2 separate regions of the Homo sapiens genome follow, and region 2 is linked to region 1. Evidence: promoter capture Hi-C in human tissues and cell types (Jung and others, 2019). All regions are on one chromosome and are shown on one strand. The core of a region is centred on a gene start or on the middle of the fragment in contact, and the rest is flanking DNA. Distances in the headings are between cores, read along the strand shown. Region 1 holds the start of SLC16A2 (solute carrier family 16 member 2). Region 2 overlaps SLC16A2 (solute carrier family 16 member 2).

Evidence for each region. The method cuts DNA at HindIII sites, captures the fragments that hold promoters and counts their contacts. A contact is called where the count stands out against the background at its distance.
Region 2: a contact is called between a fragment that was not itself captured here and the fragment with the promoter of SLC16A2 in region 1, in 1 of the 25 tissues and cell types used here (ovary).

Annotation. Positions count from the first base shown.
Region 1 is chrX:74,419,036-74,423,281 of GRCh38, forward strand. It overlaps SLC16A2 (solute carrier family 16 member 2), which reads left to right and starts at 2,458. Exons shown (of 6, transcript NM_006517.5): 1 at 2,458-3,032. The coding sequence starts at 2,603. It overlaps LOC105373252 (a long non-coding RNA gene), which reads right to left and starts at 1,613. Exons shown (of 2, transcript XR_007068267.1): 1 at 1,271-1,613. The HindIII fragment of the contact is 17,504 bases long and covers 1-4,246 here.
Region 2 is chrX:74,468,753-74,472,998 of GRCh38, forward strand. All of the region lies in intron 1 of SLC16A2 (solute carrier family 16 member 2), which reads left to right. It also overlaps the pseudogene HNRNPA1P25. Among named protein-coding and RNA genes, the nearest start is that of SLC16A2, 49 kb to the left of the region's middle. The HindIII fragment of the contact is 8,235 bases long and covers 1-4,246 here.

The DNA of each region.
Region 1 (4,246 bases), core at 1,208-3,707:
ATGTAAACGTTTCCTAGGAGAGGCAGACGGCATACATATTAACTTTCTGGCCTGATTAGCCTTCACTTCCCTCTTTCTGTGAGTAGACTCTATAGCTCTGTGCTTTGAGCTCAAAGCATGCTCTGATGTAGGGGACCACCTTCCCCTACCCTTGGCCTTTTAAAATCCTACTCAACATTCCAGGCCTTGCAGGAACGGTGGCTCATGCCTGTAATCCCAACACTTTGGGAGGCCGAGGCGGGTGGATCATTTGAGGTCAGGAGTTTGAAACCAGCCTGGCCAACATGGTGAAACCCCATCTCTACTAAAAATACAAAACTTAGCGGGTGTGGTGGCGCACGACTGTAATCCCAGCTACTCGGGAGGCTGAGGCAGAAGAATCGCTTGAACCAGGGATCGGAGGTTGCAGTGAGCCGAGATGGCGCCACTGTACTCCAGCCTGGGCTACAGAGCGAGACTGTCTCAAAAAGAAAAAAAAAATTCCAGGCCCATCTTGAACACCACCTCTTCCAGAAGCCCACTGTGATAGTGCAGTCAGATCCTGCCTTCCCTCCTCTGTCTCCTCCCAGGGAGCCTCAAATCCTAGACTCTTTTGGTGAAACACAGGGAGCATGAAGCTTCTCGTTATATGGAGACCTGCCTTGAATTCTAGCTTGTCCTTGACTTGGCCCATGATCTTAGGCTAATAAATGCCTTGACCTCGTTGAGCCTCAGTTTTCGTGCAAAAAAGCAGGTAATAATAAACCTTAGGGCAATAAGGGACGTGCTCTGTTCGGGCAATGCCTTCCCTGCTGAGTGGCGTGGCCCTGTGATTTTTGAATTTGGCTGATTCCTCTCATATGGCAGCGCAAGCCCCTCAGGACGTCTATATCCTTCCACCCAGCTCCGCCAGCCCTCAGGTGCTTAATGACTGTATTTACAGGCATCTAGCGCAGCCACGCAGCCCCGGAGCTGCATCACCTCTGGCTATGCAGTCTTTCACTTATCAGGAGGGTTAATGAGATGCAGGGTAGAAAGGTCTTGCCACTCGCCCGCCCGCTCGTGGAAGCCGAGTAGCTTGGTAACGACACCACGACTTCACGTTTAGTGCATTAGACGCGTAGACCCTTAGGGGAGGCAGAGCTTCCCGGTATCGCCGAGCGGGCCCTGAGGGCTGAGGCTGGGCACCCCTGCGCACCCCTGCTGAGTGCCCGGCCACCAGAAAGACAGATCCCCCACCTTTCCTTCTCCCTGACCCGGCGCGCTTCCTGGGGAACAAACTCTCCCTTACCCTCAGTGGGGCTGGGGCCTCAGTCTGCGACATACAGTGGGACTCCCATGTCTGCATGCCTGAGGTGGGCGGAAGGGGGCGGTGGGTGCTGGGAAGACATCCGTCCGCTTGCAGCTCCGCTGAGTCTCCAGCACCTGAAAAGCCGCGGCCGAGGCCTGAGGGACCAGCCCAGCCGAGATATCGGGGGCGGGGCAGCCCAATCCCAAACTGGCGGCTGGACCCGACTCCAACTCGTTCCTCCTAAGTCCGGGACAGATTGTCGGGAGGAGCTTGAACTGAGCTTCGGCTCCCGACTGGGCCTGGGCCCGGCCCCCACTGGTGCCACCTCCCTCCCTTCCTGGCCCGGCTCCTGGCCCACACTCGGCCCTGGCCCGGCCCTGGCCCGGCCCAGACCCGGCCCGGCCCTGGCCCGGCCCAGACCCGGCCCTCTGAGGCTCCTCCGGGCTCCAGGTTGGCGCAAACAAAGCCCTGATTGACTGCCCGGAGGGGCGGGCCTCGCTGCATGGCCGCCTCCTCCCCTCCCAGGCCGCCAGGGATTTGCCGGGAAGAGCGGGGGCAGGGGGAGACTCCCGGGGGTGCGCAGGACCGCGGGGGGCCGAGTCCTCGGGCTCGAGAAGATTGTGTCCACCCGCTGTCCGAGGCCCAGGCTGTCCCCTCAGGTCGTCCTCCTCAAGTCCAAGGAGGGACATGGGAGCTCCTGAGGGCAGGGTGGGGTTCCTCGCGGGCCAGCTGTCGTCCTAGGGTCCCCGGTGCCACCTCAGTTGCGGGCTGCTTGTGAGGAAGGAGGGTATGGGAGCAAAAAATAGGAGGGGTCTTCCCGAGGCTCGGGGTTGATCAGTGTCGGTTCTAGAGCCTGCGGGGAAAAGAGGGCAGGAGAACAGGATAGTTTGTGCTTCCTTTTTTCCATTTTAACTTTTCCTCTAACGGGCATCCGGGCAAGAACAGGGTTCAGTAGTTTGGGAAGGGAGCTGGGGGAGGCAGTGGCGGCTGGAGTAGGTAGGCGAGTAAAAGGAGGAGGAAGGGCTGGGGAGAAGAGCGAGGCTGTAGCGGCTGCCTGTTGAGGGAGGAAGAGGTGGGGGGTGTGGAGGAGGGGGAGGAGAGAGAGATGACATGGGGAGAGGAGGAGGGGGGTTGGACGTGGGAGGAGGAGGAGAGGGCTCGAGGGACCGTCTGTCGCGGGACGGGCTGGCCAGCTGGGGCGCGGAGCCTGGAGGAGGAGGCAGCGGCAGCGGCAGCAGCAGCCCTCCGAGCAGCAGCAGCTGCAGCAGCAGAAACAAGTACCAGCCACAAAGCGGCTCCTCTGGCCCAAGCAGCCACAGTCCCCCCGCCGCGATGGCGCTGCAAAGCCAGGCGAGCGAGGAAGCAAAGGGGCCCTGGCAGGAGGCAGACCAGGAACAGCAGGAGCCGGTGGGTAGCCCAGAGCCGGAGTCTGAGCCGGAGCCTGAGCCCGAGCCCGAGCCCGTGCCAGTGCCCCCGCCCGAGCCCCAGCCGGAGCCCCAGCCCCTACCGGACCCCGCACCCCTGCCGGAGCTGGAGTTCGAGTCCGAGCGGGTGCACGAACCCGAGCCCACGCCTACGGTAGAGACCCGCGGCACCGCGCGCGGCTTCCAGCCTCCCGAAGGTGGCTTCGGCTGGGTGGTGGTGTTCGCTGCCACCTGGTGCAACGGCTCCATCTTCGGCATCCATAACTCTGTCGGGATCCTCTACTCCATGCTGCTAGAGGAGGAAAAGGAAAAAAATCGCCAAGTGGAGTTCCAAGCAGGTGAGTGGCCCCGCACGCCCCACTTGGCATTTTGGGCAAGGTTGGCCGCTCCCGCTGCCACCGACCCCATACCTCCCGGTCCGAGGCGCCCCTCCAACGCGCCTCTCCGACTCCTCCCCTTACCCCTTACCCCTTGCCCCTTGCCCCTTTCCATGGCTCTCCTAGGGTGCGGGTTGCGGGGCTTTGGGCAGCTTGGACTGGGGAGACTAGGTGCAAGGCGTCCCGGGGGTACGAACTGGGACATTCATTGATCCTTGGCAAGCAATGGACTTTTTTTTGCCCTGGGACAAATCTAAATGCACCTTTCAGGTTTAAGGTACCTTTGCCCCTGTGTGCTGGGGGAAAATATTTGCAGGACTTTTTTTTTTTTTGGAGGTGGGGAGAAGTCATGAGGAGAGGAGAGAATTGAGAGGCGGGGCGGGCTCTGAGAGAAGCACTGTACCGCTGATCTCCGCAGCAGCCCCCCGGTTCCTTTGGGGAAACGGAGGTGTTTTCTGTTAAAAACACTTTAGGAATCCTGATGACTATGAGCGAAGAGTCAAACACATGGCAGGCGTGCGTGTCTGCAAGAGAGAAAGGGAGGGAGGGAGTTCGAGTCGGGGTGTGAGTGCGTCTCTGGCCGCCGCCGTTACGGCCCAGCTGGGCCCGGCAGTCCTCTGCCGCCCCGCGGGAGTGAATGGATCTCCGTGCCCTATGAGCCGAGCCCCAGAGCGGGCGGGGAGGCGGTCTCCGCAGTCTCCTGCCAGAGAGGCGTGAGGCCGCAGGCAGGCTGGGCCCTGCTGCTCACTCCGCACCGCCCCCAACTTCAGCCCTGCCTTCCCCGGCAACCCGCGCCTCTCTGCTACCGGTGGGGTGCCTCGTTCGGCCTACAGCCTGAGTGCCAGACCCGCCATTCCAGCTTTCCCCTGGAGCTGACTTGATCTCAGACAGAGTTGGGGGGCATAGCCCTCGCTTTCCAGGCCAGTGGACGCAAGACCCCAGGCGTGTGCGCTCTTCTCATTGAGGCCGCCTGTGAGCTGGGAGAAGTCAGAGGAACCATCTCGCTTTCCCAGCAAAGCCGCTGGCGAAATCCCTCAGCAGTTCTGGTGAGGGATTCAGACGAAGACGGGGGATTGGGATGCCCTCTCTGGCAAGGCTTGCTCCCTCTCGTGGCTCCTCAGGACAGCTCGACTCTTGCCACCAGCCCCAAGTTCACAACTCAGAATATGTGGCTT
Region 2 (4,246 bases), core at 959-3,458, 49 kb after region 1:
ACAATCTTATAATGATCAAATCAAGGTAACTGGGATATCCATCACCTTAAACATTTATCATTTCTTTATGTTAAGAACATTCTATTTCCATTCTTCTAGTTATTTGGAAATACACAATTTTTTGTAACTATAGGCACCCTATTGTGCTACCAAAAACTAGATCTTATTCCTTCTATCTAACTATATTTTTGTAACCATTAGCCAACCCTTCTTTATCCCCCACTCCCCATTACCCTTCCCAGCCTCTGGTAACCATCATTCTACCCTTTACCTTCATGAGACCAATCAACCTTTTTAGCTCCTATATATGAATAAGAACATGCAACATTTCTGTGCTTGGCTTATTACACTTAATATAATGACTTTCAGTTCTACTCACGTTGTTGCAAGTGACAGGATTTCATTCTTTTTTATGCCTGAATAATATTCCATTGAGTATATGTTATCACATTTCCTTTATCCATTCACCTGTTGATGGGTACTTAGGTTGATTCCATGTCTTAGCTATTGCATATAGTGCTGCAACAAACATGGGAGTGCAGATATCTCTTGGATATACTGAGTTTTCTTCTTTTGGATATATACCCAGCAGTGGGAATGCTGGATCATATGGTGGTAACTTGATGTTTAATATTTTAAGGAACTGCCAAAATGTTTTCCAAAACAGCTAACCCATTTTACATTCCTACAAACAACACATGAAGATTTCAATTTCTGTACATCCTCACCAACACTTATTTTTTGTATTTTTTTTATAGCTATTCTAGTGGTTGTGAAGTGGTATCTCCTTTTGGTTTTTATTTGCAGTTCCTTGACGACTAAAGATATTAGGTATCTTTTCATGTGTTCATTGGCCATTTGTATATCTTCTTTAAAGAAATGTCTATTGAAACTCTTGGCCTGCTTTTTGTTTTTAAAGACGATTTTAGGGCAGTTTTAGATTTGTAGCAAAGTTGAGCAGAAAGTGCAGACATTTCCCATATACCCCCTACCCCCCAGCATGCACAGCACCTCCACTATTAACTCCTTCACCAGAATAGTACTTTTATTATAATTGATGAACCTACATTGACACATCATTATTACCCAAAGTTCATAATTTACATTAGGTTCACTCTTGGTGTACATTCTATAAGTTTTGTCAAATACATAATAACATGTGTCTACCATTATAGTATCATACAGAATAGTTCCACTGCTCTAAAAATTCCCTGTGCTTTACCTATTCATCTCACCATCCCCCTGGCAACCACTGATCCTTTTACTGTCTCCATAGTTTTGCTTTTTCCAGAATATCATCTGATTGGAATCACACAGTATGGAGCCTTTTCAGATTGGTGTCTTTCACTTAATAATATGCACTTAAGATTCCTCCATGTGTTTTCATGGCCTGATAGCCAATTTCTTTTGAGTGCTGAACAATACTCCACTGTCCAGATGTACCAGAGCTTATCCATTCACCTACCGAAGGAAATCTTGGTTGCTTCCAAGTTTTGGCAATTATGAATAAAACTGCTATAAACAATAATGTGCAGGGTTTTTTTGTGTGTGGACATAGGTTTTTGACCCACTTGGGTAAATACCAAGGAGCACAATTGCTGGATTGTACCATAAGAGCATGTTTAGTTTTATAAGAAACTGCCAGACTGTCCTCCAAAGTGGGTGTACCATTTTGCATTCCCACCAGCACTAAATGAGAGTTCCTGTTGCTTCACATCATCACCAGCATTTGGTGTTGTCAGTGTTTTGGATTTTGGTTATTCTAATAGGTGTGTAGTGGTATCTCATTGTTTCCATCTGCAATTCCCTCATGACATATGATATTGAGCATCTTTTCATATGCACATTCACCATACATATATATTTTCTGGTGAGGTGTTCATTTAGATTTGCCTTTAAAAATATCAAGTTATGCCAGGCGCGGTGGCTAACACCTGTAATCCCAGCACTTTGGGAGGCCGAGGCGGGCAGATCAGGAGATCGAGATCATCCTGGCTAACACAGTGAAACCCCGTCTCTACTAAAAATACAAAAAATTAGCCGGGTGTGGTGGCGGCTACCTGTAGTCCCAGCTACTAGGGAGGCTGAGGTAGGAGAATGGCGTGAACCCAGGAGGCGGAGCTTGCAGTGAGCCAAGATGGCGCCACTGCACTCCAGCCTGGGCTACAGAGCGAGACTCCGTCTCAAAAAAAAAAAATCAAGTTATTTATTTTCTTTTTGTTGAATTTTAAGAGTTCTTTGTATATATTATTAACAATTCTTTATCAGATATGTCATTTGCAAGTATTTTCTCCCAATCTTCTCATTCACTTGATAGTGTCTTTCACAGAGCAGAGATTCTTAATTTTAATTAAGTCCAGTTTACAAATTATATCTTTTATGGATTGTGCCTTTGTTGTTATACATAAACAATTACCACCCAAGGTCATTGAAATTTGCTTTTATATTATCTTCTAGGAATTTTAGAGTTTTGCATTTTACATTTAGGTCTATGATTAGTTTTGTGTGAATTTTTGTGAAGGGTGTAAGCTCTGTGTTGTTACTGTTATTTTAGGATTAGGAATGAAAGACAGTTATTATAATCCTGGGACCTCATTTCTCTGATGGCTCTAAGAACAGTGGTTTATTTTTCAGTTTGTTTAGCTTTTTATTTGTTGTTAGGACAGAGTGATAACTTCCAAGCTCTTTACATGCCAGACTGGAAAACCTTTGCCCATTTGTCAATGTTATTTGTCTTTTTATTGTTGAATTATTAAAGTTTTAAATATATATTCTGGATACTCAACCCTTATCAGATAAATGATTTGAAAATATTTTCTCTCATTCTGTGTGTTATCTTTTCACTATCTTACTGGTGCCCCTTGAAGCACAAGTTTTTCATTGTTTTATTGTGGTGAAATATACAGAACATAAAATTTATAATTTTAACCATTTTAAGTGTACATTTCAGTGGCACTAAGTACATTTATGTTCTTGTGCAACTATCACCACCATCCATCTCCAGTACTTTTTCATCTTCCCAAACTGAAACTCTGTGTCTATTAAACATTTTCTCTTCTTCTCAGTCCTTGGCAACCACCATTCTACTTTCTGTCCCTAAGGATTTGATGACTCTAGGTACATCAAGTAAATGGAATCACACAGTATTTACTTGTCTTTTTGTAACTGGCTTATTTCACTTAGCATAATGTCTTCCAGGTTCACCTATGTTGTAGCATGTGTCAGAATTTCCTTCCTTTTTAAGGGTGAATAATATTTCATTGTATATACACACATACATACATACATGCATATACATATACATTTTGTTTATCCAATCATCCATCAATGGACATTTGGGTTGTTCCCACCTTTTGGCTATTGTGAATGATGCTTCTCTGAACTTTAGGGGACAAATATCTGTTTGAGTCCCTGATTTCAATTATTTTGGGTATATACCCAGAAATATGTTTTTAATTTTTATGAACTCCAATTTATCTAGTGTTTTTTTGTTGCTTGTGCTTTTAAAATTATTTCTAAAAACTATTGCCTATTCTATTTACTTCTATGCTTTCTTCTAAGACTTCTATATTTTTAATTCTTATATGTAGGTATGTACTTCATTTTGAGCTAATTTCTATATATGGTGTCATGTAGGAATTCAGCTTCATTCTTTTGTATGTGAATATCTAGTTGACTCATCACCATTTGCTGAAAAGACTATTTTATCTATATTGAATTATCTTGGCAACCTTGCTATTAATCAATTCACAGGAAATATAAAGGGGTTTTTAAATGGACTCTCAATTTTGTTTCATTAATCTGTACGTTCATTCTTATGCAAGTACCACACGGTTTTTATTACTGTACCTTTGTAGTAGATGTGAAATTAGGAAGTGTGAATCTCCCAACTTTGTTGTTCATTTTTCTTCTTTCTTCTTTTTTTTTAAAAAGACATTTATTCAGCATCATAATCAGACTATTACATTTAGCAATCAACAGCATGGGTGCAAAAAAAAAAAACAACCTACATTAAAACCCTTCGTTGGAATGCTTTACACTTTCCACAGAACAGAAGCTAAAATAATCCGTTATACAATTAGTCACAAATACAGTCCTCGAGTTTTTTTCCCATACATATGAGTATTTGTCTAAAACATGTCTGCTTTGTAGCAGCTAGGCCCTGCCACCACTGTGCTTTGCTAAATTCACAAATCTGTTGTAACCTGTAGCTTCCCTGCCACTTCTCTGGCTCTCCGCTCCTGCT